2 separate regions of the Homo sapiens genome follow, and region 2 is linked to region 1. Evidence: promoter capture Hi-C in 16 types of primary human blood cells and fetal thymus (Javierre and others, 2016). All regions are on one chromosome and are shown on one strand. Each heading gives the region's core, a stretch centred on a gene start or on the middle of the fragment in contact. The rest is flanking DNA. Distances are from core to core; before and after follow the strand shown. Region 1 holds the start of STK4 (serine/threonine kinase 4). Region 2 has its middle 23 kb from the start of SERINC3.

Region 1 (2,967 bases), core at 96-2,595:
AACTTTGATGTTGTGGAGTCAGGACAGTCCTGGGTTAAAACCTTTGCTCTCCTTAGCTGTGTAAACCGTGGGTCTCAGCTTTCTTATCTGTTAACGGTAGGTACTTCTTCCTAGGGCTGTTTTGAGGATTAAGTGAAAGTCCAAGATTGTGTCTGGCACACAGTAGCTTCTCAGCAAATGTTTTCCTCCTATGTCAGGGAATGGCTCCTTTATCCCGTTTTGGGCCCATGGGTGGCCCTGAAGGGTGGGTGCTCAGGTGTTAAGTTCTGTAGATGGCATATCCTTGGGAAAAGCAAGGCAATTAAAAACAGTGAGAGGTTGCTCTGGTTAAGTTTTCTCCTATAACTTTCCCCATGGGTCAATTGGGTAGAATCTGCCATTTTCCTAATACTTACTGATGGTAGTGGCATTCGGAAGCACAATAGCTGAAGCCGGAGCTCTGAGTGGAGAGAAAGGTCTGTTTCTCAGGCCCAAAAAGAGGTTACACACCCATGGCTGTCCAGTTTGGTGGTGCAGGCCCTGAAATCAGACCAAACTGGATTTAAATCCCCAAACCTATACTCTAAGCTATGTGACCTTGGGCTAGATACTTCACCTCTCTGGCCTTATGAAGTAGGAATAATAATAATACCGTCTAGGTTGTTAGGAGTATTAAATGAGGTAAAGCACTGAAAACGTTTAGGGACTGTGTTAAATCATTAAATAAATAAAAACGGGGATGACCTTATCGGCTTGACACAGGGGATTAAATGAGATAATATATGAAGACAAGTACACGGCAAATGCTTAATTAATGTTGCTTATTTTTATGTCTGCAAACTGACTTAAAGGGGAGGCCTTTAAGAAAGACAGTGGGGCAATTTGCGCGTTGATGCATTGTAGGAGAAAATGTGCAGGGGGCCCGTTGGGACCAGAGTTCAACCAGGTAAGCGGCAGAAAACCACAAATACCTCCAGGCGTTCCTGGGGCAGCGCCGCCTCCCCAAAATCACGCAAAACTTGGTTTGCTAAGAATTGTCAGCTCTTCTAAAGGAGGCGCTTCACGCATCTCAGTCTGTGAAATGGGACCCAGGACCCAGGTAGAGGTGCGTTCTCGGCCTGGGGACCGAGTATTTTGTGCGCTCCGGTAACGCAGGAAGACAGCGCCACTGACACTCTAGAGACCAGCGGGCACCGCCTGGAGGCGCCTTCACCACTTGGCGGTTCCGGGTCCGCGCCCCACCGCGCCACAAGACTCACGCCCGAACCACGTGATCAGGGCCGTGGCTCCGCCCCGCTCCCGCGCCGCGCGCCGCTTCCGGTAGGGGCGGAAAGCGGAAGTGTGGGAGGGTCTGCGGGGCGGGCTCAGGAGGTCCGCGGGAGGATGGAGCAGTGAGCGGGTCTGGGCGGCTGCTGGCAGCGCCATGGAGACGGTACAGCTGAGGAACCCGCCGCGCCGGTGAGGGGCCACTGGCTAAGAGGACGGGCATGGGGTCAGGGGAAGAAAAGGCGGGAACTGGTTGAGGGGATACACCTGTGTGGGAGTCCCCGGAGCTAAGCGACCCAGCCGATGGGGCACCTGCTGAGTGAGGGGGGGGACGTCTGGTGGGTGAGGGTCCGGCTGAGGGGAGCATCTGCTAAGGAGGTTAGACTTGGGACCGGTTAGAGGGAGCACTCGCTGTGGTGAGACTGTGCTGAGGAACGTGGGGACAAGTTAGGGAGAGTACCTGCTGAGGCCGGGCCACTCGGGGGAACGCTATCCAAGCAGGGACTCACGGAGGTGGGGGCGAATGCTGAAGCAGGGTGAGAATCTGTGAGGGATCTCTTTAAGGGGGTGGATCGAGAACTGGCCAAGAGGAAGGCCGGGTGGACTTTCTAAGGGTCTGAAGTCCCACTTGAGGGGTGCGGTGGGGGGATCTGTGGAGGGGAAAAGCTTTGCGCCTAAGGCTGAAAGCATGCGAGGAAAGGTTGAGGGTCTAGCAAGGGAGGGGATGGTGGAGGGTAGCATTTCAGAGGATGCTGTTGGTGGTGTCCCCACTGTAGGATGGCATCTTTTATTACTGATGTTCAGTGTCTTCCTAATGGTCTTCACATCCTCCTCAGCTCTTCAGAACCTGACATTGGGAGGTAGGTAAGGAAATAAGAGGATATTTTCGAGATGGGGAGACTGAGGTCCAGAGTAGTTGGGAAGTGTTTCCTTCTTTACTCCGGGTCACTGAACCCTGCCAGTCTGTGCCCTTTTCAGGCCTCAGTTGTTTTGTGAATATCAGCACCAAATCCTAGTGGTACCTGGAATTGCTTTAGTTCAAGATCAGGATGGTGGCTGATCCTAGAAAATCTCAACTCCTGGATTTCCCTTGTGGACATCCCGGGTCTTTTGCCACTCTACCACATCTGGAGAAAAGTAGGGACTAGAGACCGAAGGAGTCATGCTTCTCTGAGGTTCAGTGTGGTTACTTCTATTTCACAGAGACGTCTGACTTCCTGCAGCAGAATGAGCTCTAAAGAAGGAAGTGTTCAGGGTGTGGAAGTGCAGGGCAACCAAGAGGTGAAGAGAAGGGATTGACTGCCTGGGCAGCACTCTTAGGGGTTGTTTGAGCTTGGGGATGTTTGAGGTGCACAAACATTGCAGAAGGCAAATAGGTGGTTGGGATGGGCTTTGGATTCACCCTAGCGTAGTGTGCTGAGACTGTAATAGTAATGATTATTACACTCATATTGCACTTACCGGGTGCCAGGCACTGTTCTAAGTGCTTTCCATGTGTCCTGCTGAAGCATATGAAATTGCTGATATTTGACCATTTTTGAACCATAAAAACCTCATTTGAACTCATTTGAACCTCACAACAATCCTGTGTGGTAGATATCCCTATATGTCTGTTTTACAGATGATAAAACTGAGATACAGAGGGTAGTGATTTGCTGGGAGAAGTCATAGCAAGTAAGAGACAGAGCTAGGATTTTAATGTCTATGGGGTCTGGTCCAAAG
Region 2 (2,911 bases), core at 389-2,888, 420 kb before region 1:
TTCAAGGTTCACTTAATCTACTGTCACAGGCTTCTTTCCCTAAGATTTTCTTGGTTGTGCCCTCCCTAGAGTATTGGCTTCTTCCTCAGGCTAGCAGCAAAATAGCTGCAGTAGGCCTAGGCCCCAGATTTATGTATGGCACCCACCTAAGGAATAGAAAGATTGTCTTGGCTGGGCGCGGTGGCTTACACCCGTAAAATACCTGTAATCCCAGCACTGTGGGAAGCCGAGGCGGGTGGATCACCTGAGGTCAGGAATTCGAGACCAGCCTGACCAACATGGTGAAACCCCGTCTCTACTAAAAATACAAAAAATTAGCCGTGTGTGATGGTAGACGCCTGTAGTCCCAGCTACTCGGGAGGCTGAGGCAGGAGAATCGCTTGAACCTGGGAGGTGGAGGTTGCAGTGAGCTGAGGTCACACCACTGCACTCCGACCTGGGCAACAAGAGCAAAACTCCGCCTCAAAAAAAAAAAAAAAAAAGATTGTTCCTTAGAGTGAGAATTTTTCTCAGAAGCCTCCAGAGAACTACCCTAGAATCTCATTGGCCTGGACTGGGTCATATGCTCATTCCTGAGCCAATTTTTGTTAGTAGGGCAATGTGATGCCCTGATGGGCTTAGGCCTGGTTCTTGAACAAGCCATTTACAAGAGGGATGAAATTATCTCTAGACCATTCAGAAACAGAATTGTGTTTCTGTTAGGAAAATTTTTTTTTTTCTATGAGTAGGTGAATGGACGCTGAGTAGATTGGTCGAAGAGGAATTGTGTTGGCTGCTGATAACAGTGCTTTAAAGAAGACAGGTTATTTTTCTCTCAAAAAATATTAAGTCCAAAGTAGATAGTCTGTTCCTGGCATGGCAGTTCCACAGTGCCATCAGGCAGCCTAGATCTTTCTCTCTTTCTGTTTCACCATGCTTATCACACAGCTTGCAGTCACCAAGTGGTCGCACGTGTTGGCTCTGGCTCTCTAGCCAAACGGTCTTTGAGGCAGGAAGAAGTAGGAAAGGGGAGGGCAGAGGACACCCTTTAAAGTACCCTAAGTCCCAACCACCATGTTCAGTTTACATCTCATTGTCCATTCTTACTTGTGAAGAAGGCTGGTAAATGCAGTTTCTTAGCTGTACACATTGCCATTCCCCAAAACAGGGATTCTGCAGCTGTGGAAGAATGAGAAATAGATACAAGCCTGGAAGTGGGCAGTGCCCACCACAGGAGGCGGCCAACAATGTCAGCTATACCCTGTATTTGGAGAAAATTGCAGTTTTTACATTGACTTTCCTCTTTCTTTTCTTTTCTTTTCTTTCTTTCTTTCCTTCCTTCTTTCTTTTTTTTTTTTTTTTTTTTTTTTTTTTGAGATGGAATCTTGCTCTGTGGCCTGAGCTGGAGTACGGTGGCACAATCTTGGTTCACTACAACCTCCACCTCCTGGGTTCAAGCAATTCCCCTGCCTCAGCTTCTGGAGTAGCTAGGATTACAGGCGTGCCCCACCATGCCCAGCTAATTTTTGTATTTTTAGTAGAGACAGGGTTTTGCCATGTTGGCCAGGCCAGTCTCGAACTCCTGACCTCAGGTGATCCACCCACCTTGGCCTCCCAAAGTGCTGGGGTTACAGGTGTGAGCCACTGCGCCTGCAATGCCCGGCCTGCATTATAAATATTTGTTCATAATGTGTTGCTAACAGTGACAATCAATAAGAATCAACTGGGTTTGTTCCCCAGCCTGTTTAGTTTTATTATTGTGATTACAAAATAATTAAATATTATGTTAACCAATGAAATGTAAAGGGAAAAAGGAAAAAAGATACTGCTTTTATGAAAAATAAGTTGAATGTGCTTACCTGATAAAGGCAAATGGCTAAGAAAAAATATTTTTGTCAAATTAGGGGTGGAAGAGACCTCTGAAAAGATTGAAGAAAAAAATTATAAAAATATGGAGATTCTGACAGATAGGGTAACTCTCACCTGTAATCCTAGCACTGGGAGGCTGAGGCAGGAAGATTACTTGAGGCCAGGAGTTTGAGACCAATCTGGGCAACAGTGAGACCCCGTCTCTACAAAAAGAAAATTAGCCAGATGTGGTGGTGTGTCCCTGTAGTCCTAGCTACTTGGGAGGCTGAAGTGGGAGGATCACTTAAGCCCAGGAGTTTGAAGTTACAGTGAACTATCATCACGCCACTGTACTTACTCCAGCCTGGGACACAGAGTAAGACCCTGTCTCCAAAACATATATATACATATATGTTTCTGCCTTCAGAACACTTCACAAGTATCATTCCAGTAAAAACTGAAAATCATAGATGTACATCATGAGTGTAGTTCATGCAGAAACTTTAATTGCTTGAACTTACTCTCAAGAAAAGGCCTTCACTGGGCACAGTGGCTCATGTCTATAATCCCAGCACTTTGGGAGGCTGAGGCAGGTGGATTACTTGAGTCCAGGAGTTCGAGACACAAGCCTGGGAAATACAGCAAAACCCTGTCTCTACAAAAAATACAAAAATTAGCAGGTTGTGGTGGTGCATGCCTGTACTCCCAACTACTCGGAGGCTGAGGTGGGAGAATCACCTGAGCCCAGGGAGGTTGAGGCTGCAGTGAGCCATGATCATGCCATTGCAGTCCAGCATGGGTGACAGGGAGAGACCCTGTCTCAGAGAAGAGAAGGAGAGGAGAGAGGAGAGGAGAGGCTTTCATCCCTTAGCCAGTATTTGGAAAATAAACATGCATTTTTAATGATTCCTCTCTTTAACTGTATTTTTTAAAAAATGAGTTATACCATTATTAGTTCTGATTCCATCAAGGAGAGAACTTCTACTTTGTTTCTTAAGTTGTTATGTATGGGTTACTGTGTATCAATTGAAATGAATATCACCAGGCCTTATTGTTGGTCATTATAAATTGTGCCCTGGTGAAC

What was found. The method cuts DNA at HindIII sites, captures the fragments that hold promoters and counts their contacts. A CHiCAGO score of 5 or more calls a contact.
Region 2: a contact is called between a fragment that was not itself captured here and the fragment with the promoter of STK4 in region 1, in 1 of 17 cell types (erythroblasts). The highest score is 5.1, in erythroblasts.

Annotation. Positions count from the first base shown.
Region 1 is chr20:44,965,167-44,968,133 of GRCh38, forward strand. It overlaps STK4 (serine/threonine kinase 4), which reads left to right and starts at 1,346. Exons shown (of 11, transcript NM_006282.5): 1 at 1,346-1,437. The coding sequence starts at 1,403. STK4-DT (STK4 divergent transcript) reads right to left here and starts at 1,292. Exons shown (of 3, transcript NR_038341.1): 1 at 951-1,292; 2 at 396-519; 3 at 1-282. RefSeq lists a silencer at 1,171-1,420 and an enhancer at 2,561-2,640. The HindIII fragment of the contact is 5,160 bases long and covers 1-1,909 here.
Region 2 is chr20:44,543,601-44,546,511 of GRCh38, forward strand. It overlaps a transcript of PKIG not described here. Among named protein-coding and RNA genes, the nearest start is that of SERINC3, 23 kb to the left of the region's middle. The HindIII fragment of the contact is 4,199 bases long and covers 1-2,911 here.